Linked DNA regions of Homo sapiens: regions 1, 2, 3, 4, 5 and 7 are each linked to region 6. The links are contacts of gene promoters, found by promoter capture Hi-C in blood cells and fetal thymus (Javierre and others, 2016). All regions are on one chromosome and are shown on one strand. The core of a region is centred on a gene start or on the middle of the fragment in contact, and the rest is flanking DNA. Distances in the headings are between cores, read along the strand shown. Region 1 holds the start of CDK19 (cyclin dependent kinase 19). Region 2 overlaps HDAC2 (histone deacetylase 2). Region 3 holds the start of AMD1 (adenosylmethionine decarboxylase 1). Region 4 overlaps HDAC2 (histone deacetylase 2). Region 5 overlaps LOC124901382 (a long non-coding RNA gene). Region 6 holds the start of TUBE1 (tubulin epsilon 1). Region 7 has its middle 7.6 kb from the start of MARCKS.

Region 1 (3,865 bases), core at 815-3,314, 1.3 Mb after region 6:
GGTTCAAGGGATTCTCCTGCCTCAGCCTCCCGAGTAAATGGGACTACAGACACATGCTACCACACCTGGCTAATTTTTGCATTTTTAATAAGAGGCAGGGTTTCACTGTCTTGGCCAGGCTGGTCTTGAACTCCAGACCTCGTGATCCACCCGCCTTGGCCTCCCAAAGTGCTGGGATTACAGGTGTGAGCCACTGCACCCAGCCTGAAGAGACTCAAGGTCTAAGGAAGTTTTCCAGGAGTGGGTGATGTAGCAAATAAGGTAAATCATTCCCCCTCCCACTAGTTTTCCAAGTTTCTTTCAAAACCTAGCAGGCAGTTCACTATTCTTTCCTTATCTACCACTTTGGGTAGAATTGACAATTCCCTTCTTTGTCCTCCTAATGAATGTGTTATGTCCTATCCTAGCACCAATCATGTTTAAGTGTGTATCCCAAACATTTGGGACATTAGGCTCACCATTACAGGGGAGGAAACCCTCTTAGGTTCTTCAGCTGGTCTATAAACTAAATTGATACCAGTCAGGTTAACAGGAGAAAAAGTTTTAATTACGTATGTATGCACAAGAGTCCCACAAAATATGAGACTCAAAGAAGGGCCAGATGTTTGACACTTATATTACATCCTGACCTCAAAAAGGAAGTGGGGCCCGGCATGGTGGCACGGACCTGTAATCCCAGCTACTCAGGAGTCTGAGGCAGGAGGATCCTTGAGCTCAGGAGTTGGACGCCAGCCTGGGCAACACAGCAAGGCCAGTCTCTTCAAAACAAAAGTGGGGTTTGGGGCTTCCAGGAGTGGTGGAGACAAGTTAAGAGAGGATAAGAGGAAAAAATGTCTAAGGTGAATAAAGGTTGACTTTTATGCAGATAAAAGTATCTCAGATGATACAAGTTGACTAGCAGCAGCTCTCTTTCTGGTAAGATTCCTTTAATTACGAAAATTTCCTTTAGAAATGTAAATTTCTCTTTACAAAGGAAGAGTTATTCTTTATTTTAGGCAGTAGTGGGATAAGTGAAGCATTTTCCTGTGTTGGCTGGATCTTAATTTATTTTGCTAAAAGACATCAATATGCCAGAGTGGCGTATTTTGGGGTGGCATATTCTGGACTCCTTCAGTTATAATTTGGGGTAGTGTGTCCTGAGCCCCAACACAATGAAATCAATCAACGTTCACCCTAACTAAAGGGGCTTTCTTAAACATTCTAGAACCTCACATCATGCATAGACCATAAAAAATCCTTTACAATTCAACCCAAAGGATCGTAAACGCGGCTTCCTCCAGGCACTTTTAATTGTCCTTAGACAGATGGCCAAAGCCTGGTTATGGGAACCGCATATGCTAAGAGAAAGCTGACTACAGCGCCAAGAAAATGATGATTGGCTGCTGGGGCTCAGAAGTTGCATGTTCTCCTCTGGCCAAGGCAGGCTCTAGGAAACTGCTGAAGGTTCAGTTTTTGAAATACGGTTTTTGCATCGTAAAGAAAAAAGATCAACCTATCAGGAAGAACCGAGCACATCCAATCACCAATCAAGAGCGGGAAAGAAGCCAAAGCCTGGGGATACCCACGCACCAACGAGGACGTCATTCTCCAGCCCCCGCCAATGAGCAGCGGGACGGGGGGCGGGGCAATAGGCGGACCCACTGCCCTAGAAAAGAAACAAGCTGCGGTACAACTGTCCTCACCAGCCCTCGCCTCCCGAGTCACTGCAGCCAACCCTTCAGCAAGGTGCTGATTTAATGCTTTCCATACTCTCTGCGTGGGGCTAGTTACAGTGAAGTATCCCCTTCCCACTAGAGTAAGGCACTTCTTTCCAGTGTCTCCCCGAGAACCGCAGAAAGCACACTGGAACTTCGAGCTTTCTACCTTCACAGGAACCGGGAGCCGTGCGCTACCTGAGGGGGAGGGGCGGCCCTGGTACGCAGGCGCGCATGCTTTGTGGGGGCGAGGCTGTGGTGGCCCGAGGTAACCTGGGAGCTGTATTTCTTACGCCGGCAAAACCGCCCAGGCCGCTGAGGCCTTCGCGACTTCATTTCCCAGGAGCCTCCGCGACCATGGGGCGGGCCAGTGAGTTCGCTAATGAGCTCGAGGAAGCCACGGCGCGGCCCACCAGGTTCCAAAACAAGGAAATGAAGGAGGGAGGCGGGACTGGGGGTGCCTGCGGGAGCCGCCGCCGCCGTCGCGGAGGAGGAGGAGGAAGAGGTGGAGGAGGTGGCTGCTGTGGCCGCCGAGGAGTCCCTTGCTGAAGGCGGACCGCGGAGCGGCGGGCGGCGGGCGGCGCGCGCGCGCGCGCGAGAGGCGGCTGTTGGAGAAGTGGAGCGGCGGTCGCGGGGGGAGGAGGAGGAGGGACTGAGCGGCGGCGGCCCCCGCGTCCCGTGCCTCTATGGGGGAAGCAGACAATGGATTATGATTTCAAGGCGAAGCTGGCGGCGGAGCGGGAGCGGGTGGAGGATTTGTTTGAGTACGAAGGGTGCAAAGTGGGACGCGGCACCTACGGTCACGTCTACAAGGCGAGGCGGAAAGATGGGTAAGAGCAGGGGCGGGAGGAGTAGGCTCGCTCGGGTCCTCGCCCTGCCCGCGACCTGGCGGGATGGGTGGGTCGGATCCCAGTCGGGCCGTGCCCGAGGGGCGAGGCGGAGGGGGTCGCGGGGTTGCGTCCGGACACCGACTCCGAGGGGCGCCCGTTCCGCCCGCCTCCCCCGCGCGGCCCCGTCGCGTACCTCGAACTCCCGCGGCGCAGCCCGGTCCGAGGCGTCGGTCCCGTCCCAGAGGGGCGCCCTCCGAGTGCTCGGAGACGGCGGGGGGACTCGAGTTGGGACCGCGGTGGAGGAGGAGTTTGTGGGGTCTAGTCTCTTGGGGGAACGCAGCGGGCAGGCAGAGCTCCGCTGCGGAGTTGCCGCTCCGGCCCTGGGTAGTGACGGTCGTTGTGGAACTTCCAATCGGCTGAGCGCCTCGCGGGGGCGGCGGTTTGAAACCTCGCCGGGGAGCCTGTCGGGCGAACGCGGCCTGGGGTCCTCGCCAGCCCCACGGCTCTGACCCGCTGGGCACCGCCGCCCCCAGCAGCGATCTCCGCCCTTCGGGCTGGCCGGCCCGTTGGCTTCTCTATGCAGTCCTCCCATCCCTGTTGTATGCCCGGCGTCCCGGGTTTCTCATTCTCACATTCTGAATTGCGTACCTTCCCCCTTCGAAGGAGACCTGATGGGCTAGCTGCGTTTCGCAAGCGGCAACTTAAGAGTTGGCTGAATTCTCTGCTACCCACCCTTTACCTTGCAGCCCCTTGGGTATCTTGGGTATTATGTCCTCCACTCCATCCTCTGCCAGATGACTGTGGGCTGGGGCTTATGGAGTACCTATATTATCAAGAACGGAATACGAAGTGACAGAGCTGGGCCTGAACCTTTGTTTTCCTAGGAGTTGAGGGAGAACTGTAGGAACACCTTGGGAAGCCTTTACTGGTTGTCCTCTTAAGAAGAGCTGGATAATGTACTGAGAATACCTGTCCTTTCTTGGTCCTGGAGGGCAGACAGCAGCTACAGCAGGACTGGTGGAACCAGCTTCCTGGCAGGAATTACCCTCCCCCAAAGCTAGGGACCCAGGAAGATGCCCTGTCCAGCATAGACTTTAAAGAGAGTCAAACTCTACGGAAGAGGATTGTAACGGACCATTTCTGAATAAAGTGATGATCAGCCACAATGACATTAGTAAAATTTGAAGTGCCGCTTATCTTTGTGCGTGCTGTTATAATTTGATGTGGTTGGTATATGAACTCTAGGACTAAAGTACGTTGTGTGCGTATGCACTAACTTCATAAAACAACTCTATTATAAAGTGTTTTGTCATAAGGTATCGTGAAAATTGCAAAGTGCTA
Region 2 (3,674 bases), core at 324-2,823, 1.9 Mb before region 6:
CAAATATTTGCAGGGCATATAATACATATGGAATACTGTGTTAGTGTGGCCAAGCATAGTACAGATAACACAAGTGCAACAGCTGCCTTAATGTTTTTGTAGATAAAGATGAGGGTATGTATAAACAAATACAGACACGACAATTAGCTATTTGGGGAGAAAAGAAATATTTAAAACAATTAATGCTAGGCAATATATGTGAATATGTGAATTATTTTCAGTTACATGTAGACATTTAGAGAAGAGGGGAAGTTAGAATAAGACTCAGTCTGGAAGTCTTGTGGAAGAATTGTGTCATACGTGAAATTGAGCTCTTCGGAACAAGGAAGATTAGGATAGAAAAAAGGACGAGAGGTCGTGAACAAAGATTTAGAATTGAAAACTCTTGTAGTGAGTGATTTCATTGATGAAATCACTGGATGTTTTATCATGGAAAAGGAGAGAAAGTAGAGTTTATGAACATATGGATTTGACTTTTTACTCGAACTGTTTCCACTAAAATAAGGAGTGATTAAATCATAGTTGATATGCCTGTGTAATGCTTTTAAAGGAGTTTGAATTAGTTTTGAGATTGATTACTGTTTTCTAAAACACATATAAGTTTGGGTTAGTTTTGGAATTTATATATTTTGTTCTGGTAGACTTGGTTCTTTTGAGGGGACCGATAGGGGAATTTGTATATTTGTTTGATAATACTGATATAACCGGTTGTAATTCCACAGTTCTGACATTTATTTCTCTTCACAGAGGCCCCATAAAGCCACTGCCGAAGAAATGACAAAATATCACAGTGATGAGTATATCAAATTTCTACGGTCAATAAGACCAGATAACATGTCTGAGTATAGTAAGCAGATGCAGAGATGTACGTTTCTAAGTAAAAAGTAGTTTTGCTTTGATAAATGTAAATTAGTATTTTTAGGAGCTTAGAATGATCTAAATCTGAATATTTTTCCTGTTGGTCTAATATGTTACAGTTATTTACTGATTTGAAAAGTCATTTTAACACTACTAAAGCTACTTAAGAAAAAAGTAAACCTATCTGAAGCTTATTGGTTTGCAAAACTGCTGTTTGGGTATTCTTCTACTCCTAGTTTGCTCCCCTGATAACTTTGGGTTAATACATATTGGTAGGGAGACCTCACTCCCTTACTCCCTCGCTTCAAAAAAACAAAAACAAGATTACACTTTGATTAGCCTTAGCTTGGCATGTACATATCTCTTGTCTTGTCTTTGTGTACTTCAGTTAACCTGGACTATAATACACATCTCTTTTTCTTTGTTAAGATATTAGTGAAGCTTTTGATTCTACGTAATGTTCTCTTGTACAGGTTAAAAGTATTTTATTTTTAGAGATTAGTAACAAATTGGCTTGAAGGTAGAATGCAAAAGTCAACCTAAAATTATTGGAACAGTATCTTTTAAAGCTTGATACCAAAGTTCATTCTCATTAGTGTTTGTATTGACTGACTTCAGTGATGATTATACTAAATTAGTGTAGGTGCTAGACATCTCATATTTACAACCTCATACACATTTCTGCCATATCTTGTTTGATTTGTTATAATGCTACAATGTAACTAGAACATGTAGTATTTAATTTTTTTTTTTTCAATGAAGATTCCAACTTAGATGCAAAAGAGGCATGAGTAGCCCTTGGGCAAACAACATAACAGGATTGATTTAAAACCCACATAATAATGAGTTCTATTAAGCTTATGATCCTGGCCAGGTGTGGTGGCTCACGCCTGTAATCCCAGCACTTTGGGAGGCGGAGGTGAGTGGATTACCTGAGGTCAGGAGTTCGAAACCAGCCTGGCCAACATGGCAAAACCCTGTCTCTATTAAAAAAGTACAGAAAATTAGCTGGGTGTGGTGGTGCGCGCCTGTAATCCCACTACTCTGTAGGCTGAGACAGGAGAATTGCTTGCTTGAGCCCCAGAGGTGGAGGTTGCAGTGAGCCAAGCTCACGCCATTGCACTCCAGCCTGGGCGACAGAGTGAGACTCTGTCTCCAAAAAAAAAAAAAGATTATGATCTCTCTGTGCAGTAAGAAACTAAAATTCATTTCTTATAGTGCTTGTGACTTAAGGGTATACAAAGATATTAATATACAAAACAAGGACCCTTATTCTTGAAGAGGTTACAATTCAAGGGCATAGGGAAAGACTAAGAAAGGGTTACATACATCTGCCATATCCTTTCATTCTCTCAGTGCTAAGGAACTAAATGTGTGATCGTTTATCTGTAAATGTTTTCCTTGTTGTCTTTAGTATCCTATGTTTTGGCTCCCATGAACCTAGTTAATTCTTAGCAACTTTCAAGATCAAGATTAGCCATGGGAATAGGCAACCAGCTGTTACATCTTTTTGGTTTAGTAACTTACTGACATGCATTTCAAAGTTACAGATATTATAGGTATTTAAGGAGTTTCAAAGAAAGTAAATTATAAAGCAATTGAAGTTGCTTTTAGAATGTTAACTTATTGTAATATTAAGGGGAAAGGCCTAGAAAATTTAAGCCTGTGTTTTAATTAAATAAGAATTGTTGTACTTAGACAACTATTGAGTTCTTGTTAATAGACAGAAATATTCCACAGATAATCCTGATAAGATTTGATGATCTTTCACAGATAACACTTTAATTACCTTGGATAAAACAATAAATATATTTTAAAGTTGGAAACTTTATATTATACTGTGAAGTGTATGTTTGATGATTGCATCAAGCAAAAAAGTATTTGTGGGAAATAGTTTTTGTAAGAAAAGGCTTTCATTAATTTGCAGAATGTGTTGAAATTAATGAAATCCATCTTCCACAGTTAATGTTGGAGAAGATTGTCCAGTGTTTGATGGACTCTTTGAGTTTTGTCAGCTCTCAACTGGCGGTTCAGTTGGTAAGTGCTAATGCAATCAGATTTAAAAGTTGATCTGAACTTGGTGTGTTATCTTTCGGGTTATTTGTGTAAAACAGAAGTTTTAATGATTGTGAATTTTGATAACAAAAGGAAATCAGTATGTTTATAGTAAAGTACAATTTACTTTCAAACCTCTATGTTTTATGATTATGACTTAAACGCTTTTTAAACTTATTTTCACTTGGAGACTTCATTCATTCCCTTTGTCTTCTAGGTATCATTGTTACTACCACTTTCCACATAAACCATTATTTAATCTCAGGTTGCAGCTCTAGGAGAATATTTTTCTAAGGAGTAACTCCTATTTGTGTTATAGATGATTTCTGTTAACTTTCATGATTTTAAGCTCTTGCTTATGCATGGCATACACTTGTAGTGTTTTTGTCTCATTCTACTACTTTTTTATGATAAATGTTTAAAAGGTCTATCTTGTTTCTACTTCTTAGCTGGAGCTGTGAAGTTAAACCGACAACAGACTGATATGGCTGTTAATTGGGCTGGAGGATTACATCATGCTAAGAAATCAGAAGCATCAGGATTCTGTTACGTTAATGATATTGTGCTTGCCATCCTTGAATTACTAAAGTATGTTAATTTATATTGATACTCTTTTCAGTGATAAAGTGTTTTCATTAAAACACAATAAATAAAGTCTATGGCTTTAAAAAATATTAGGTAAACCATAGGTTGAAATAGTTAATGGTGAATTTTCTATGAATTCATTACAAAACAATGAAGAAATGCAGGAAATTTGCCCA
Region 3 (3,814 bases), core at 358-2,857, 1.2 Mb after region 6:
GCCCAGGAGCCCATTGGTCGCCGCCTCTCAATGAAGCTGGCCACGCCAGTTACTCCGCTGCACCGCCACCCTAGCCGCACTCGTGCGCAGAGGAGCCAGGGATCCGGTGGCAGGGCCTAGGAAGGCCATTGGTGGCCACCGGTGCGACCGCCGCCAGGAACAAGGCCTAAGCATCCACGGGATCTCTGGGCTTTTATATAAGCATGGATTTCCACAGCAATACCAACTAAAACGCCTCTTCGGCGCGGTCAGCCCAAGTATCTCTCGCGTGACGGCCCGCAGTGGGAGTGGGCCCCAGATTCCTTTGCTCAAGCTTAAGGCATTAGAGGCATTATGTCCTGGGGCAGGCGGGCCTCCCTCCACCCGCACCTCTCCCGCCCCGCTCCGCCGGCTCCGTAGCAGGTTACACAACCCAAGGTCAAGAGATTGGGGAGCAGCCCCCAGCGGCCTCAGCGGCCGTGTCGAGGGCGGCCCCGGGGACTGCGCCGTCTGCCCAGCCGCCCCGAAAAGGCTCTGGCGCAGAGCATGTTAGGGGAGCGGTGGGGCCCCGCCACTGCGACATAACTGCTCCCGCCCAATCCCCGCCGCCCGAACGCCACATGCTGCCCGCGGCCGCCGCGGGTGGGAGGCCTCTTCGCCAGCCCCTCAGACAAGGCCGGGAGGGCCCCTCCTATCCGCGCCCGAGGCAAGAACAAGCGCCGCTCCCGCCCTCCATTCCCCGAAGCCGGCACGCCCGAATTAGCGCCTGACTAAGCCCGCCGAGCCACACCTGCCGGAGGCAACCCGCGCAGGCGCCCCCGACCCCCACCTGGGGCCCCTGCCGCCAACTACTACGGAGGGAAATGTCGGGAGGCGCGGGCCGCAAAACCACCCCGGGCCGCGCCGCCCGCCGCCCAGCGCGGGACGTTACCTGAGCACGCGGCCGCGCCGGCCTCCTCCCCTCCCCCAGGGCAATGCCAGGCGCGGCAACCACGGCGGGAGAAGCCGGCTCCGGCCCGCGTGGACATGGCCGCTCTCCCCCAAACCGCGCACCTTCCAAGGCCGCCGAAGCGACCCCAGGCCGCAGACTTGCCCCCAACTGAAAGCTGAGGGAACTCGGGCTCCACCCGTGGCTGGTGCCTCGGCGGCGGCGACAGCCCCCAGGCCCGGATGTCAGCGAGCGCCCCGGGGACCCACCTTGGGATAGTGCGAAGATCCCCAGATCCTTGGTTTGCGTCGGGCTGCTGCCGGGAGAACCAAACCTCCAGCAGCTTCTCGGTCCCTTCGAAAAAATGTGCAGCTTCCATCACCGTGAGACTAGCGAACAACCAACAACCACAGAAAATCAACTAAATTAAACCTCTTCTCCCGCCGCTGCCGCCGCCGCTGCGGATTGTTCCAGCTGTGTTACTAAAGTTCAGGTTCCTTTTTTTTTTTGCTATAATTTTATATTAACTTTTTTTAAAAAAAGGACTAATAAAATTTTCCCGGCTTTGTGTGAGCGAAAGTTGAACGTGAGTCTTTTGGAAATAGAGGCAGATACAGTTCAGTCTCTTGTATTCCGCTGCTTTCCCGTTAGAGAGAGTAGAGCGAGCGCTAGCTAATGTCGCCGGCCATACTGTGTAAGCGAGAGCGCTGCGTGAGCACCGCCCTTATATATCCCGGCTCCCCCCAAAAGACCAGGAAGTGACGCATCGTCCCACCTCCACGGCCTATAGCTGCTGCCGCCTGTCAATCACTCGCGGCCGAGTGGCGGCTGGCTGGCCGAGGGCCTGGCGGAGAGCGCGGGGAGCTGCCCACTGCGCTGCGGCTCGGGCTCTGGCCGGCTCCTGAGTGGGAGTTGGTGCTGTGATGTCCAGCTGGGGACTAGAAACCTCGGATCGAACGCAGAGTGGGTGGGGAGAGCGGGAACGGAATGAGGAAAGGCTGTGCAGAGCTGTTTAGAAAAAAAAAATGATTAGCAGAAAACATGGGTGGGTCCTTAGGGGTGTTGGCGGGGTTCAGCGGGGACGGTGGCCAGCGCTGGGTTGGCGTGGTGGTTTTGATCTTGTGCAGTTCACCGCGACTGCTGAGGTACTTGGCCATTCTTAAAAGTGTGTTTTCCCAAGGCGAACGCAGCCAGGCGTTAAAACTAAACATTTGTCCGTGACGCGCACGTTGCCAGGGGTCGAATTAGAAGGCGCTTTAATTCTGCTCACGCCTTGGCTGATGTGCGAATGAAAGCAGTCCTCGGCTGGTTTATACAATAGCCAGAAGCATTGTCTTCCTATTTCAGAAGAGAAAAGCAACGTGGCGCCCAGCCTTGGAGGGCCCCGGCTTTACCCACCTCCCACCGTGTGGCTCGCCATGCCTCCGAATTGGCTGAGCACAGCAGCCTCCGGGAAGCACTGGCAGCTCCGTTGCTCCATTAGCTCAACTGGTGGGAATTTATTCAGCAAAACTACTTCTAGAAACTGAATGTGTTAAATATAATCTGAACTTATTTGATCATGTTTTTCTTTGAATTTTATCAAGCTGATGTATTAATTGATGGAGGTTCTCCTTACCCCCCAAAATTTACAGTGCTATCTTCCCATGTGCTTAAGAAGGATTTACCTGGAAATTAATAAAACAGGGATTCCAGAGCTATCACTGGTGGTAACTTAAATAACTATCAGTCTAATATTTTATAAGTGTTAAGTATAAAATAGTCGTCAAGCCATGGTCAAACAGTTTAACCTCAGATGGCAAAACTGGTAACAAAGTTATTACTTTTACTTGGGAATATGGGAGGAAAAAAACCCAAGCTGACATAAAAATTGCTATTGTCACAAGACAAAAGGACTTTTCGCTATCATCCTTAGAAAAAAACTTTCCCCAAAGTGAAATAAGATGATGTCAACATGAAAAATCCACTGAAAAAGACATGGTTTGGGTTTGCACTCTAGATACCCTGTAGAATAGCTCTTGTCTTACAAGAACGTGGTTCACGTGTCTCCGTGAAACCTGTTGAAAGAAGCTATGTTGTGAGCTAGGTACATAAACTACTCTTGCTTTGTTTTGTTTGTCTGAGACGGAGTCTCGCTCTGTTGCCCAGGCTGGAGTTCAGTGGCGTGATCTCGGCTCACTGCAACCTCTGCCTCCTGGGTTCAAGCGATTCTCCTGCCTTAGCCTCCCGAGTAGCTGGGATTACAGGTGCATGCCAACACACCCGGCCAATTTTTGTATTTTAGTAGAGACGAGGTTTCACCATGTTTGCCAGGCTTGTCTTGAACTCCTGACCTCAGGTGATCTGCCCACTTCGGCCTCCCAAAGTGCTGGGAGGCCACCGCACCCAGCCCTCTTGCCATGTTTTATAAGCATCCAACTCAAACTGCGGATTGGGACAAAAGATAATAAATGTTGCTTATTTTATAATGATAAAAGAATGTGGTTACTCTACTTGGAATAAAGATAAAAGAAGTATTTCTGTGTTTTACAAGCTGTTCAATTATTTGATGGTTCTTACTGAAGAATCTGCCTACTAAACCACCTCAAACACTAATTGTGGTATAAACATAATTTGGCTTATAATTGCTTATAATTAGTTGCTTCTCAACTACTATTATGCTTTTTTCCCAGTGCAATTTAAGTTAATATAAAAGTGCCAAGAATCTTGGCAAAGTAAATCCTTATTAATTTGATATAGGATAATTTAAATAGTCTACCAACTGGATTGGTCCTTTGTAAAATATATCATTTTTCTTGTTATCTTGAAGCTCAAAATTCCTTGTATACTCTGGTTTCTCTTCAGATCATAGAAATAATAAAAATAAAAATCCCTTGTACTAAGTTGGTTAATCTTTGCTTAAATATT
Region 4 (3,681 bases), core at 388-2,887, 1.9 Mb before region 6:
GGATAACTTGGAATAGTTTATTAAATCACTAGAAAAATTAAGGCATTAATTACTCCAGAAACACTTAAGACATTATCAATTAATGTGTTTCTTAGCATGAGCCTACAGGACCTGATCAATATAATAGGTCAGTGCATTTAAACCAAGATTGTGCCATTTTTAATATTTCACATTGCCTCTTTTAACAGAACCAAATCAGAACAGCTCAGCAACCCCTGAATTTGACAGTCTCACCAATTTCAGAAAATCATTAAAAAGAAAATATTGAAAGGAAAATGTTTTCTTTTTGAAGACTTCTGGCTTCATTTTATACTACTTTGGCATGGACTGTATTTATTTTCAAATGGCTTTTTCGTTTTTGTTTTTCTTGGCAAGTTTTATTGTGAGTTTTTCTAATTATGAAGCAAAATTTCTTTTCTCCACCATGCTTTATGTGATAGTATTTAAAATTGATGTGAGTTATTATGTCAAAAAAACTGATCTATTAAAGAAGTAATTGGCCTTTCTGAGCTGATTTTTCCATCTTTTGTAATTATCTTTATTAAAAAATTGTACTTGGATTATCTTTTGTCTGTTTATTACTACAATATGAAGTCTTGTTTCAGTGGCTAATGACATCATTTCTGTAGACTTACAATACACTCTAGGTGAAAGATAATGATTACAGCTTGAAAGATAACTATTTGCTGTTTCTTTGGGAAGAGTATTTATAGTAATTATTACTTATCTTTGCAATAGAAATTCTACCACCTTGCCCTCTATAGCTTAGCCAGTTAGTATCAGTGAAGATTAACATCCCATTACAATTTATGAAATAATACAGACTCTGCAATTGAGATGTAGGAGTTCTTTGAGTTGACCCAAAGATTCTCAAAATTGAAATGGAAATTCTGAATTGAAAGAAGAAACTGACCAGAACTTGTATTGACCAGACTTGCCTATAGTATATTGCTGGTTTAAAATGGAACCTGCAGACAAAACCTGTTTCTTTTACTGCATTTACATGGCATCCAGGTTCCATTATTATTTACGTGACATCCAGGTTTCTAACTCAAGGAAATAAACACAACTGATTTATCATTCAGCAACTACTTATTGTGTGTCTGCCCATTTTAAGACTGTAGGAGTGTAACTGAATATAATGGAAAAATGCTTTCACTCAGAGCTTACACTCAGAGCTTACATTCTAGTAGCAGGAAGCAGACAAATGGGGGTAACTCCTGCTACTAAGATGTGCAAAGAAGACAAAACATTTTAGGAACTTGCCAAAATCAGTGAAATCTCCCTTTTTGTCAGGCCCACATTGATTCTTTTGAGATTAAAAATTACAGAATGCCAGAAGATAATTCAGTCAAAAGTATTTCTCTTCAGTGCAGTAAAATATTAAAAGAAAAAATATTTCTCTACAAGCCTCTTAAATGTTTCAGACATTCACAATAGCACCTAGACTTTTGTAATGAACAGCTGTGCACCCACCCCGACTTAACAAATATTTTACTTTTGCTATATTTGCTTCGGTGTTTTTTTCTTAAAATACACCGAAATTGAAGCTCTCTTTGTGTACTTTGTCGTTTGTAATCCTCCCTCCCTCCCAGCCTTAAGAAGTAATCACCATTGTGATTATTTTATCCATGTTTTTGTGAATATTTTACCCATGTTTTTGTACTTTTGCTACATATTTGTTATCAATCTGTAAACCTTTATGACATTAGGAACTAAGAAACTTAGTCCCTTCGTTAGGGGGATAATGAAATGTATTTAGTGTTTGTGAAACATAGATGGTATGTATTTGGACAATTCTGTAACTTTGCTTTTTTTATTTTTATTTTTCCATAGCTTATTGGGGAACAGGTGGTGTTTGGTTACATGATTAAGTTCTTTAGTGGTGATTTGTGGGATTTTGGTGGACCCATCACCCAAGCAGTGTACACTGCACCCTATTTGTAATCTTTTATCCCTCGCCCCCCTCCCACCATGCCTCCCGTCTACCATGATGATCCTGTTTTAAATAAGAAAATACCATTTCGCAGGCTCCAGATGTTCTGGCATCCTCCCTGTGGATTTCCCAGTGCCTGCAGCTCACAGGACAACAGGGGCTGTGGTAGAGTCACCTATGAGATCCTGGAGTAGTGGATGGAGGAGATGGAACAGTGAAGACGGAAACTGAGCTCAGTATCCGGGTGCCAGGAGACAAAGGCCCTTTGCTTTTTTTCATTTAATATTCTGATCTACCCCTGTTGACACATGTTAAGTATAGTTCATTTTGACTGCTATGTATTATGTTCCATTGTGTGAACATACTGAAATTGTACACTTCAATACTATACTGGATCTCCTTGGGTGTATTTAAGAGGTTTTGTTTTTCTAAGTAGTTGGTTATATACAACTAAAACCTCAAGAGAACTATCTAAAGCAATTTCAGCAAGGTGATTTGGTACAGCATTAATAAACAGAAATCAGTAACACTTAGTGACCAAGTCTGTTGGAAGAACAAAGACCCCCATTTGTAATAACAAAATTTTTAGAAATAATATGTAAAGAAGCTATGGTTCTTGTGTCTAGTAAGGTCAATGTAACATAGTAAGATGTCAGAATACCCTAATACTTTAAAAAATTCATATAGGATAAAAATGATATTTGAAATTGGCAAGGAAAGACATTATTTTGTAAGTGGAATTGGGACAACAACTGGTAACCAAATGGAAAACCCAGTTTTCTGCCCTCCACTAGAAGATTTAAATAGGAAAAGATAAAACTACCAAAAACCTAAACTCTTAAAGCAAATGGATTGAAGAAGGCCTAAGTGTGACACCAAACTCAACTATAAAAGATATATTTGATAACAAAAAAAAAATTAGTTCAGTGGACCAACAAAAACTTAGAAGACAAGTCAAGAAAAATGACAAAAGACAGAGTGGGAGGCAGATTTGTAACTCATCCAGGTCAAAAGGCTCATATCTAAAGATAGTAGAGGAACAAAATGTATAAGGATGTGAACTGGGAAACAAATACATATAAATAGTTTGTAAATATGAAAAGATCTTTAACCTCAGTAAATAAAAAGCTATAGAGAGACTTATTTTTTAACTTAGTTTTTTAAACCTATTATGTTTATTTATTTTTTCTTTTTTTGAGACGGAGTCTCGCTGTTGCCCAGGCTGGTGTGCAATGGCGCAATCTCGGCTCACTGCAACCTCCGCCTCCCAGGTTGAAGCCATTCTCCTGCCTCAGCCTCCTGAGTAGCTGGGATTACAGGCGCCTGTCACCACGCCCAGCTAATTGTTCGCATTTTTAGTAGAGACGGGGTTTCACTATGTTGGCCAGGCTGGCCTCGAACTCCTGACCTCATGATCCACCCACCTTGGCCTTCCAAAGTGCTGGGATTACAGGTGTGAGCTGCCGCACCTGGCTGTTTATCTCTTTTTTTTAGAGAAAGGATCTCGGTCACCCAGGATGGAGTGTGGTAGCCTGATCATATCTCACTACATCTTAGAACTTCTAGGCTTAGGGTATTCTCCCACCTCAGCCTCCCAAGTAGCTGGGACTACAAGTGTGCACCATCACACCTAGCTGATTTTTACATTTTTATTTTGGAGAGATGGTGTCTCCCTGTGTTGCCCAGGCTGGTCACAAACTCCTAGGCTCAAGCGATTCTCCTGACTCAGGCATGAGCCACCGTAC
Region 5 (4,137 bases), core at 798-3,297, 1.8 Mb before region 6:
TGCAGCAGCTGTGTGTCTCCAAGAATTCAACCTCTCTGAATCTCAGTTTCCTCAACAACCGCAATTACACATTCTGGTGGAAGTTTGTTTTATCTATTAGAAATACTAGATGAAAGTGCTTGGCCCTTTGGCATTGCAATGCGGCAACTGCTGAGTGATGTCAATGCATGAAATTTGAAAGGATGGTGATCGATTCATTACATGTTCCAATAAAAATATTAATGAGTTATTTTTAAAAAGTGCTTGGCATTCTATAGGCACTAATGAGTTATTGTTTCCGCACTTGGAGGTGTTCTCTGCAGTTTTCTCTTCGAGCCCAATCCTTCCTTTCTGTCCTCTCAGATGTGTCTGTTCTTCTTCTCAGTCTAATATAAGCTTTTCCTCAGTTTCTTTGGGTTACCACAGCAGCAGGTCCTTTCTCTCTGATTCTAAAGATCTTTGCCTAGGTCTGTGCATGCATGAGCTGATCACTGTCTTTCTCAGTTAGTTGTTGGCAATGCCAGGGCAGGAACCAGGGCTCCTTGACTATGGGTGTGCGGCTTTTCCTTCATGACACCATATGGCCTCTGAGAGCTGGCATTTGATTTTCATTTAATTGAAATTCTCGTAGAAGATCATCAACAATACTATTAGCAGGAACCAGCTTTTTAAATGGTCAGAATAATCCTTGTCTGTTTTTGGAGATGTTGTCTTGCTCCTAGAACAGCTGTGAGTGTGTGAACTCATCAGTGATGTGGACACTGCCCAAATAGTAATCAGCAAAGAAATCTTATAAAATTACCAACAGATTACTGCTTCAGCCTGCCAGCACTTTCAGTGCCAGCCAGCCTGTTTTTGTTTTTCTTTGTTTGTTTTCCACTGCAATAGGTTGCAATTTAGAGTAAGTCTTTGTGGACTATGAATGAAAATAGAGTTTCACACTCAATTGATAAGCTTTGACAAATGAAAAAACACATACATGGTATATTTGGGACAATAAACAGGAACCTAGAAAACTAGGGATTCATCTCTCCCTTTCCTTTACCTTAATAATATGAGACAAATGTAATAAAACTCTGTCCTACCCCCATCATAATGCTGTACATGTAAGGAATGCCAAAGAAGTATATGATATTTCTTGCCCTTCATGGTGGATAAATGTCAGAAATTGTATCACAATGACCATGGTACAAATAATTCACCAGGACAGAAAAGAAAAAGAGGTTAAAAGTTTCTATTTGCATATATTTCAATGCATTTTGAAGTCCAAAGGATACAAGTTACATAACATATAAGTTAGATGCATTTCCGCAAATGCAAAAATAAATATCTTAGTGCTACCTCTGCTTGCTGTTGCTCACATTCTCAATTTTCCCCAGTGTCTCCTTCAGCTATCGCTCAATGACTTCTCTAAGTTACATTTTATAGATTCCTCAAAGAATCGTTGCTTCTGTGAGGTTACCTAAACCAGGATCCCATAAAATTAAGACAATGAGACAGGAACTGCTGAGAGCACCGCAGGTGGCAGAGCAGCTCTCAAATCACCAGAGGTTGATGCCACCAAATGGCTCCAGGCCTGAGCTTCTTCCACGTGCTCCTACCTACTTTCTACCTCAAGGGAACTGTTCATTTTTTAAAAAAACAGGTTTACTGCTATTGCTATCCAAACAGCTATGCACTATTTTTTCTACTCTATTCTATGTCCTTCCTCTGGATGCATTTTGAAATTCTGTTTTGAAAGCATTTAGATATTTGGAGAGCATAAAGTTTTTAAGATTTAAATCAGTTTTGTCTTCACTAGTGATTATTTCCTTTTATTTTTAATTGACATAATAATTGTACATACTTATGGGGTACCATGTGATATTTTGACACACCTACACACTGTGTAGGGATCGAATCAGGGTAAATAGCAAATTCATCACCTCAAAACTTTATTTCTTTGTGTTGGGAGCATTCAAAATCCACTCTTGTAGGTTTTGAATATAAATTATTCACAAAAATTGAAAGTAAATTTTTGTTAGTTATAGTCATTCTATAGTGCCATAGAACACTAAGATTTATTCCTCCTATCTAGCAGTAACTTAGTATTTGCTAATCAACCTCTGGCTAGCTCCCTACCACCCCACCCCTAACACACACAACTTTCCCAGCCTCTAGGAGCCACTATTCTACTCTCTACTTCCATGAGGTCAACTTTTTTGCCTTCCATAAATGAGTGAGAACATGCAGTATTTGTCTCTCTATGCCTGGATTATTTCACTTAATATAATATCCTCCAAGGTTCTCATTTTAACCAGACAACATGTCCTGGTATAGAATGTGAATTTAGATTTAGCAGGTCAACTTTTATTTCAACACTGTGGAGTTTGGAAAGCACCCAAGAAGTCAACAAGAAATCAAACATTTTAAGAAGCCTGGGGCAAGTGCATTTAAGTCCATTTTCCCATCTATCACCAGGGCACTGGGCGAGGCCACACAGGCTCTGTCCTGCACAACTTCAAGGAACATGCAAAGAGGCAGCCTGTGTATAACATGACGAAGGATGGACAAATTAACTGATCTTCAAATCCCTTTGAACTGAAATTAAATCATTCTGACAATGGATACTCCAGTATTTCTCTGTATCTTCTTCACATTTGCTTTTTAAAATGTCATTTTTTAACATATATTGTTTTAATAACTGTTCTGGATTAAATTTGGTTTAGAAATAATTTTCAGTTTGTTTGTGTGCTGCTTTATGTAATAAAATGAGATAGTAAATATTTAAAATGTTAATGAGTTTTAAAACATTATAAACCTCAGGAAAATCAAAATCTAGTAACTCATCTGTCAGGCCATAGGCACGGTGATTTAAATTGAGATCACTAACAAATGTAAATGGATTATTAGATGTCAAATACTTTTACTTTCCATTGTAATTCAAATTGAATGTGGGTAAGGCTTAAACATCACCATAAACACTATTTGCTCTAGAGTGAACCTCCTTATAAGAATTACTGGTCTTGGAACTCAACCAAGGGAACTTAGTTACTGAATTGCTATCAGGAGACCCAGGGTGAAGTGATTCTCCCTGTTAAGTGACTCTAATAGTGGTAGAATCCAGCTCTTTTGTTTTAGGCAGTAGTATATTTATGTCAAATCATTATACTTCATATCCAAAAAAGATGCAGGGAAGCTTCCAAGTTTACTAATGCCATCTTGACTGACATTGAGTAAGTTCTCCTTTCTTTGCAATTTTCAGCTCAATAGTATCTTACAGCGCAATGTGCCAGGAAGTCTACCAACTTGAAACTAAGCCTTTCCTGCTATAAATTAAACGTGTTTCCTCCTTGGTACAAACCAAATGCTTAATTATCTCTCTCCTCTTTCACAATCCCTTCATAGAGGCCAGGGCTCTTTGATCTTGCTATTTTTTTCCACCTCTAGAAATGGGCATTATTTTAAAACTTCCACCAGTTTTATGGTTCATCTGGAGTCTACACCAACTTAAAAACTGGGCAGAGTATTCACGTTGATGTCTGAGTGTTTACTATGTGCCAGGATTAATGTTCACAATATCGTGTGATACATATATTATTACCTCATGAATCCTCACAGCAATCTTAAGAGGTAGTTCTGTTATCCTCCTTTTACAGGTGAGGAACTTGAGGCAGAGAGAGGCTAGGTAAATTGCCCAAGGTCACGTTGCGCAAATTCCCCAAAGCAGAATGTGTGCTCATAACCATTGCTCTGCACTCCTTGTCCGTTACTTTAAGCTTGCTGGTTTGGTTACCCAATTCCTAAACACTGATGACCAACATATACTAAATTGCCTCTGGAACATTATTCTGGTAAGTAGTATTATTGAAGTCTAAAAGCAGGTTTACCCATGAAACACATTCAAGTAATCTGAGAATTTATGCTCTAGGCCTGGCGTAGCAGCTCACATCTGTAATCCCAACAATTTGGGAGGCTAAGGCGGGAAGATCACTTGTGCCTAGGAGTTTGAGACCATCTGGGGAACACAGCAACACCTCATCTATACCAGAAAAAACAAAGAAAGCCAGGAATGGGGGTGTGCACCTGTAATCCCAGTTACTTGGCAGGCTGAGGTGGTAGGACTGCTTCAGCTTGGGAGGTCGAGGCTGCAGTTATCCACGATCGTGCCACTGCCCT
Region 6 (3,873 bases), core at 768-3,267:
TAGAGCTTGAGTCTTATTATTTTAGTATCTTGTCTTTAAGTTCCTGTTTTATTGCATTCATATTCTTAAGTTCTTCTTCAGCACAAAGTAGATATGATGAATTTTCTTTTCTCCCCTCTTAGGCTAGGTTTTACCCCAAGGTCTTGTACTTTATCCATCTTTTACATCGTTCCTTCCTTCCTCTCCCCCTTCCCTCCCTCTCTCCCTTCCATCCTTGTCTTCCTTCCTTCAATTTTAGGAGTCCATAGGATTCCCAATAATTTTTTTCTTTTTCATTTTCAGCATGTGGAATTCTGTTCACTCTATTTGCTCTGTATGTTGGTCAGCTATCACTACAATAAAACTGCACCCCAAAATTTCAGTAATTTCAACCAAAAACATTTCTCTTGCTTATAATATTCTGAATAGCCCGCTGCGGTTCAACCGATCTCAACTTGGCTCACCCGGGTTTGCATATACGGAAGTTTTGGAGTGGCTGGCATGTGAGGCTCTACCTTGCTTGGCTCTTAAGCAGAACTGTCTCTCAGTCTGATTCTCTAGAGACTGAAGTTATTAATAAGATGTGTTAGGACTTTTCTTTCCTGTGTGGGGAATAATGACTGGGACTGCATGAAGGGTAGGGCTCTGCAAAGGCCAGTGTATCATCTCACCTAGCACTGATAACACACTGATACAGACCTATTCACATCACTGCCTACAAACTGGACCAAGACTTGCAAATTTTGGAAGCCCCAGACGTTGGGACTTTAGCATCAAGACCTAAAATGCCCAACTTTACCTCTACCACTGACCCCATACTCAGTAAGAAGTTAAGAATAAATCCAGCCTACAAAAATTTACTGACCGAAAGCTGCCTATTACCAAAAGATATAAAATCCATTGCAACTTTAAACCTACCGGCTACCAGAGAAATTTAATAGTAACTACTACGTGTCTTGGTGGGACAATAAAGTGTTCTAATCCATTGAATATTACAGTTCATATTAGCACATATTCATAGCACATACCATATAACTTTTTATTAAACAAAGAAGACTTCTTAGAGTTTCGTAGTTCTTCAGAATTTTTGTGGAAAATATTAATTTCATTAAAGAAGTACTTGAGTTCTTAATTAAAATCTGGTCTAATTTGATCAATAGAAGTTTACATATTTTAATGTTTGACAATTTTAAGTAGTTGGTAATTGTCATAATGCCTAACTTTTTAATCTTCTCCTGCCTATCCCATCTAAATACCCATCTAAATGCCTAGTGTTAATCTCGTGTCTTCTATCAGACTTCTACATACTCATCTACATCCTCAACCACTGAATCCTATTGCACTTATAGTCAACGCCACACAATTCTTTAAGTATTTCGCGTGTATGTCTTCAATTAGATTGTAAGCTTCTTGGAACTGGATCTATGCCTTAATTTCTTTCTAATCTTCCCAGCGAGCCTACAAGTTAATTTGGGGAGTATACAGCGTTCAACAAATACTGGTTGGGTCTGTGACCTTAGCTTTGCCATTTTTGTCAAAGCGTATAACCATCTAGTTTCAATTGTGCCCTGACATGACTATTTCTCTGGGGTTTCTCTTTGCTCAACGCCATTGTTCATTTTCTATTAGAATAAAGGGCTTGTTGAACAGAGATGCCAACGCAGCGTCCCGTGGAATCTGAATAAACGGACTGATCCACCGCCCCGGGTGTTGAGGCTGTGAACAAAAATTAAACCTCTGATAGCCCACGAACAGCTTAACGACACATATTTTAAAATACCACTCCAAAGCCTAGTTACCTGCCAGTTACCCCGGCCTCCGGAGCTGCCGATGCTCGAAGATGTTGACAAGGCAGCTAGGATATACAGTCCAGAAGCCCAGTCGCTACGGTAACGGTGACACGCAAGTGCACTTGCGCGGCCTTCTGACGGAAAACCTTAGCCTGAACCTACAGACGTGCTTAGCGACGGCAGAGGCTTGCGGCAGTAGCGTGACTTACGGCAGCTCTCTAGCAGAGCGCCGTTGCTGGGGGAATGCAGAAGCGGCCGCGGGCTAGCAAGCTCCCGGAGCCGGCGGCGCACCACCATGACCCAGTCGGTGGTCGTACAGGGTAAGCTACGCCGGGCGGGTAGAGACCTGGTCGCCGCGGAATCCAGCGGCCATGTTTCCTGCTTAATGTCCTATTCTCTTTCCTTCCTCTCCTCCGGTCGCAGTCGGCCAGTGCGGAAACCAGATCGGCTGCTGCTTCTGGGACCTGGCACTAAGGGAGCACGCCGCGGTCAACCAGGTACCCGCCCGCCGCCGCGAGCCCCCTCGCCTGTCAGCTAGGTCTTCCAGCCCATACGCAGGAAATAATCGACTTGAGCTTTCATCTGACCCGTTTAAGATGCATGGGATCTTCCCAGTAAAGAACGTACTGGTTTTTAAACATGTTGCGTCAGACACACACTAAACTAAAAGAACACTGGCCAGCGACCTTAGTCTTAACGTTTTTCCTGATTCTCAGGGTCTCCTCTTTATTGGTGTTCGTGTGCAGAACAGTGAGATTTGTATATGGGAAAGTACTTTGTAAAATAGATAACACGTGTGGTTATTGTATTCCTTAATTTAACCAGTCAGCTTTTAAAAAGATTACGAAGAATCCAGAGAACGCTCATTTGATGGACCTGTCCTACAGTCCTATGGGTGAAATCCTTTCTTTAGCACCCCCTGCTGAACTTTTTATCTGTAGATCTGGCATTTACTCTTCTAAGGAGATTGGGAAGAGTCAGGCTCCGCATTTTGTGATACTTGGTTTTTCTTATCAGAGTCTCATCCTAGCCATTACAGTATTATGTAATTAAAATTGAAAGAACTTGATTTGGGCGAGAAGCAAAACCTAAATGCTATTAACATATGTTTTTCTTTTTAGAAAGGAATTTATGATGAGGCAATAAGCAGCTTCTTTAGAAATGTGGACACCAGGTAAGATGGGATTAAAGTCTGTCACAGTGTGATACTTTAAGTTTCAGTAGCTTGGGAGAGAATTCTTCAAAGGACAATAAAAATAGCCAGCTGCGAAGTTGTGTTTTTTTGTTTCATTATTGAAAGCATATTTATTCTATTAGATTATTAATATTCTTATATCATTTTCCCGAAGAAGACAACAGATTTCCCTTTAGTGTGACTTCTTTTAACTTAACCTTGAAATAAGTTTCATTAAAAGAAAGCTGAAATTTTCCCAGAGGGCATCTTGTTAATGCATCCTGTAATAACTAACTTTTGAAAGAAAAATATATTGTTTACATATATGCTGTAAGTATAAAAATATACTTAAAAAGGTGACAAGCAGTTGTTGGATTGTTTTTGTTTATTTAATAAAGAGTATATGTAAGTACCATATATGTTTTATCTGGAAGAGTAATTTAAGTTGCCGTTTAGGATATCTCCATAAGCTTTTAATATTAAATCATTAAGTTCATGCATTTTCAAAATACTTCATAAAACTAACTGTCCTGTGCTTAAACTGAAAAATACATACTTCGTGTCAGGCTTTAATCCAATAGGAACATCAGTTCTAGTTTAAAATAGTTGGCTGGGTGTGTGAGCAGTTATCTTCAGAGAAAGCTGATTAGTCCGCGCTTCCTGGGTGAATTCCAGAGTCTATCTAGGGCACTGGCTTGCAAACTCAGAAGTGTCATTGGCATCTCGAGATGGGTTCAGTGCTCTCCAGTACAGCCAGGTTAACCAAAGACCAAATTCTCATTTTCATAGGCACATTACTTTATCTTTTGTAGGAAATCTAACTGAAAAGCTGTGTAATAATCTGAAGGTTGCTTGGTGACCATGGAATCAGACCAAAGGAAGTTAGTTACTTTAATGGCTGGTATCATTTATATTTATTTTATGGAGATA
Region 7 (3,860 bases), core at 1,286-3,785, 1.8 Mb before region 6:
TAATACAGTAGAAAGGAAAATGAAGATACAAGAGGAAAAGGAATAAAGAATGGAAAAACATTTCTGAGAAGGCAGGAAGGGATGGGGATATAGGGCACATGCTGAAAAATTGGGTTTTAAAAGACATTCTGCTTTTTAAAATATTCTGTAATGAGAGAACAAGAGGATGGCTATAGATTTGCTGGTGGGAAGATGAGAAAGTTTCCCTCTGATGGTTTCTATTCAGCTAAGAGGAAAGAAGAAAAGGGAGAGTTGCAGTTTGATGACCTTATAGAAGGTGTGGAATAATGACTGGGAGGCATAGGATTGAGACTTTTGGGCATGGTAAGACTTTAGAGCAGTAATGAGGGCCCATTTGAGGTTGATAAATCTCAAGGATGCTTAATCAATATATCAAATATATCTTTCTACATCCTCTTTAATATTACCAGCCATTCACTCTTTTAACCTATGCCCAATTTTGTTATATCTATAAGTCAATATTTGCACAAAAATAGAATATAGATTAAAAGACAGTGCTATTACAAAGCACAATGTCAGTTAATCCTATATTATTTCATACAGATATACATAAAGAGGAGGAGGGAGGGAAGATAACCTACTCTGTACCAGGGACAGCACTGTGTGAGTCCGCTAGGCTTGTGTTTCACCCTTCCAACAGAACCTGAACTTGTATCATTTTCCCATTTTACAGATTTGGAAATTGATGCTCAGGAAGGTTTGGAAAATAAAGTTCAATAGTGTGTTAGCCGTTGTTCATTGAAGTCTATCTGCCATCTAGGAATCCAATAAGAGCTCAAATGGTTGTAATAGGCACAGAACCTTATATGTAGTTGGAGTTTTTTTTTTAAATTAAAAAATAGAGACAGGGTCTCACTATGTTGCCCAGACTGGTCCCGAACTCCTGGGATCAAGTGATTCTCCCACCTTAACCTCTCAAAATGCTGGGATTACAGACATGAGCCACTGCCCCCAGCCTGTAGTAGGAGCTTTATTAGTTTTTAAAATTGATACTAAAACTGCAAGCTTCTTTACTTTTAGACTTTGCTTTAGTGCTCTTTATTAACTATCCAGTAGTACTCAAATAGAAAGATTCTTTCATAATTAGGAAACATCAGAGTCACTGCTTATCTGTCTGAAGAATCAAGAACTAACACATCTACAACAGGAGTGATGTTTCTGGCATGTTAGATCTCCACATGGTCGGAATAGGTGATCACTACAAAACCACTATAAAGAAGAGTGTATTTTTTGGTTATTGCTATTCAGGCACACCAATTGAAATAACCATACATATATATATATACACACACACACATGCACATGTATATACATATATGTATACACACACATATATACATATATACACACATACACATATATATATACATATACACACATACACATATATATATACATATACAAACACACACACACACTCAGATATATATATATTCTTTTTTTTTTTGAGACAGGGTCTTGCTCTGTTGCCCAGGCTGATCTAACTCCTGGGCCCAAATGATCCTCTCACCCCCTCCCCAGCCTCCCCAGTAGCTGGAACTATAGGCATATACCACCATGTCTGGCTAATTTTTGTATTTGTTGTAGAAACAGGGTCTCCCTATGTTACCCAGACTGGTCTCTAACTCCTGGGCTCAAGCAAATCTTTCATCTCAGCTTCCCAAAGTGCTGGGATTACAGATGTGAGCCATTATGCCTGGCCAAGATTTTTTAATATTTGAAAGAGTAATCAAAAAGTAGGACTTAATATTAGAGACAAATAAACAAAAAGTAGGAAAATCTTTAAAGAAAAAGTTTTCTCCAGAAATTTTGAATCAAAGCTTAACCATAGTAGCATTTCTCAAAATTTGCAATATTTATCCTCCAGGGACAGGCTGAAAACTTTCCATATAAGCTTTTGGAAGAATGGAATGAAGGTGGAAGATTGGGGAGGGCACGGGGATAATTCCCTTTCCAACTTTGTTCTCAGAGATAAGAGGCAAGTAAATAAAGAAAAGCAATCAAAGTTTTCATTAAAAGGATCAGGCGATCAGGTTCCTGGTCTTATAGAGTTACCTAGTCACTTTTCTCATTGTTCTTAACTGGCGGACCAGAAGTGGAGGTAAAACATTCACATAGAAAAAGTTGAATCTTCAGCATGATGAGTATAGGGACCATACAAGGGGCAATTTTTCATTGCTTCCTTAGTCATAAATACTTTCTGATATTAAAAAGGAGACTTAAACAGTGGCTGAAATGAGCTATTTGAACTAATCTATGGTTCTAGAAATTAAAGCATAAAATCAAACACTTATCTTTATTCCAAATAACAATGCACTTTTAGAAAAAGATGTATTAAACTCTTAGAAATAACTTGTTGCAATCAATAAATAGAAAGTTTTTATTAAGCTACTGCTAAAGTAGAACTTTAGTAAGGGCCCCTCCAGTCTGACGGACTTTTCAGTGCCTTCAACACTCTATTAGGTTTTGTGATGAGATGACTGGGAAGGATTTCATTTGCTCAGCAGATATTTATTAAGTACCTACTTTATACCAGGCACTGGCATACAGTGATTTGCCTCCATTACATATTTGAATCCCTACAGTAATCTTATAAAATAGAAACCATTACTCCCATTTTCTTTGTAAATCAAATCCCTGAGGCATAACATAACATGCTCAAGTTTATGCTGCTCATGAGAGTGGTCTGGACTGGGTTCTCAGTCCAGCTCTTGATAATTCCAAAGCTGTGACGCTGTTTCCCTGACTATATCATACTGCCTCAGATAAAGTTAAGAATTTTATGGGATGTTTCTAGTTTTTGTGAAGGTTACAAAAATGATCAAGATACACTAAAAATTGTCTGAAATATATTAAATATTAAACTTTATCTGTTGTAAGAGAAGTATTTAGGGCTACATCTGCAAGGTGGGAATTAGCATTCAAAGAAACACACACACACACAAACAGAATCTGACAGGTCAGATTCTTGAATCTGGAAACATCCTTAGTAACTTTATCCAGAATATTGTCATCACAAAACATATTTTTGGACAACTGAATAAAAACATAAATGGTTAAGTTGTGCCAAAAACTTACCTCTACCTTTCCTGGGGCAAAAGTGTGAGTGTTGCTTAGAGCAGAGTGAAGCTTTTTGGAATGTAGGTAAAGTAGGGTGTAGAGAAAGGGAGAGAATGTTACAGTTGGAAAGAGAATCCAGATGTGAGATGTGGCTGAGAGATGAGATCAGAGATAAGAAGGTACAGCCCTTCACAGTGCCACTGTGAGAAAACTGTAAGGATTCCTGGGATGGAGGGGACTCATGGCTGAGAATGTAGGGAGTGATGAAAATGTGACATTCTTCCATTAAGGCTACAGTTGGAATTTGATTTACATTTTGATTGTAGGTGTAAATACTTGACAGTTTTAAAATTTCAATCACTATTGTATATATTATTTCATTTAATAGCCACAGTAAATTCAGAGATCAATTAGATCAATTAGGTGAATTCCCAGTTATAAGGCTGTTAAATAATTTGCTTAAAATCCCAACTACAGGCCGGGCTCGGTGACTCACGCCTGTAGTCCCAGCACTTTGGGAGGCCGAGGCAGGCAGATCATGAGGTAAGGAGTTTGAGACCAGCCTGACCAACATGGTGAAACTCTGTCTGTACTAAAAATAAAAAAATTAGCCAGGTGTGGTGGCACGCGCCTATAATCCCAGCTATTCAGGAGGCTGAGGCAGGAGAATCGCTTGAACCTCGGAGGCGGAGGTTGCAATGAGCGGAGATCACGCCACTGCGCTCCAGCCTGGGCAACAGAGAGAGACCTCATCTAAAAACAAAAAAATTCCCAATCTC

The links. Contacts are between HindIII fragments. The CHiCAGO score rates a contact against its expected background, and 5 or more counts as called.
Region 1: the fragment with the promoter of CDK19 here is called in contact with the fragment with the promoter of TUBE1 in region 6 in 6 of 17 cell types (total CD8 T cells, naive CD4 T cells, naive CD8 T cells and 3 more); the score reaches 7.4 in total CD8 T cells.
Region 2: a contact is called between a fragment that was not itself captured here and the fragment with the promoter of TUBE1 in region 6, in 1 of 17 cell types (total B cells). The highest score is 7.7, in total B cells.
Region 3: a contact is called between the fragment with the promoter of AMD1 here and the fragment with the promoter of TUBE1 in region 6, in 1 of 17 cell types (naive CD4 T cells). The highest score is 6.6, in naive CD4 T cells.
Region 4: a fragment that was not itself captured here is called in contact with the fragment with the promoter of TUBE1 in region 6 in 5 of 17 cell types (naive B cells, total B cells, naive CD4 T cells and 2 more); the score reaches 12.2 in naive B cells.
Region 5: a fragment that was not itself captured here is called in contact with the fragment with the promoter of TUBE1 in region 6 in 2 of 17 cell types (total B cells and naive B cells); the score reaches 11.2 in total B cells.
Region 7: a contact is called between a fragment that was not itself captured here and the fragment with the promoter of TUBE1 in region 6, in 1 of 17 cell types (total B cells). The highest score is 7.4, in total B cells.

The regions. Positions count from the first base shown.
Region 1 is chr6:110,813,668-110,817,532 of GRCh38, reverse strand. It overlaps CDK19 (cyclin dependent kinase 19), which reads left to right and starts at 2,064. Exons shown (of 13, transcript NM_015076.5): 1 at 2,064-2,524. The coding sequence starts at 2,397. It also overlaps a transcript of AMD1 not described here. RefSeq lists enhancers at 1,764-1,843, 2,417-2,969, 3,204-3,313 and a silencer at 2,484-2,793. The HindIII fragment of the contact is 5,084 bases long and covers 1-3,865 here.
Region 2 is chr6:113,955,840-113,959,513 of GRCh38, reverse strand. HDAC2 (histone deacetylase 2) reads left to right here. Exons shown (of 14, transcript NM_001527.4): 3 at 748-865; 4 at 2,821-2,895; 5 at 3,363-3,501. Among named protein-coding and RNA genes, the nearest start is that of HDAC2-AS2, 12 kb to the left of the region's middle. The HindIII fragment of the contact is 288 bases long and covers 1,430-1,717 here.
Region 3 is chr6:110,872,578-110,876,391 of GRCh38, reverse strand. AMD1 (adenosylmethionine decarboxylase 1) reads right to left here and starts at 1,607. Exons shown (of 9, transcript NM_001634.6): 1 at 1,177-1,607. The coding sequence starts at 1,286. RefSeq lists enhancers at 1-469, 470-1,185 and silencers at 433-622, 653-722, 783-1,032. The HindIII fragment of the contact is 4,442 bases long and covers 316-3,814 here.
Region 4 is chr6:113,937,596-113,941,276 of GRCh38, reverse strand. It overlaps HDAC2 (histone deacetylase 2), which reads left to right. Exons shown (of 14, transcript NM_001527.4): 14 at 189-3,681. The coding sequence ends at 219. Among named protein-coding and RNA genes, the nearest start is that of HDAC2-AS2, 30 kb to the left of the region's middle. The HindIII fragment of the contact is 4,520 bases long and covers 1-3,681 here.
Region 5 is chr6:113,880,808-113,884,944 of GRCh38, reverse strand. LOC124901382 (a long non-coding RNA gene) reads right to left here. Exons shown (of 3, transcript XR_007059716.1): 2 at 1-4,137. Among named protein-coding and RNA genes, the nearest start is that of MROCKI, 9.5 kb to the right of the region's middle. The HindIII fragment of the contact is 2,224 bases long and covers 936-3,159 here.
Region 6 is chr6:112,085,626-112,089,498 of GRCh38, reverse strand. It overlaps TUBE1 (tubulin epsilon 1), which reads left to right and starts at 2,017. Exons shown (of 12, transcript NM_016262.5): 1 at 2,017-2,089; 2 at 2,193-2,266; 3 at 2,891-2,943. The coding sequence starts at 2,065. It overlaps FAM229B (family with sequence similarity 229 member B), which reads right to left and starts at 1,908. Exons shown (of 4, transcript NM_001033564.3): 1 at 1,779-1,908. RefSeq lists enhancers at 1,848-2,037, 1,772-2,303, 2,438-2,487. The HindIII fragment of the contact is 2,028 bases long and covers 1,388-3,415 here.
Region 7 is chr6:113,847,865-113,851,724 of GRCh38, reverse strand. No RefSeq gene overlaps it. Among named protein-coding and RNA genes, the nearest start is that of MARCKS, 7.6 kb to the left of the region's middle. The HindIII fragment of the contact is 1,235 bases long and covers 1,918-3,152 here.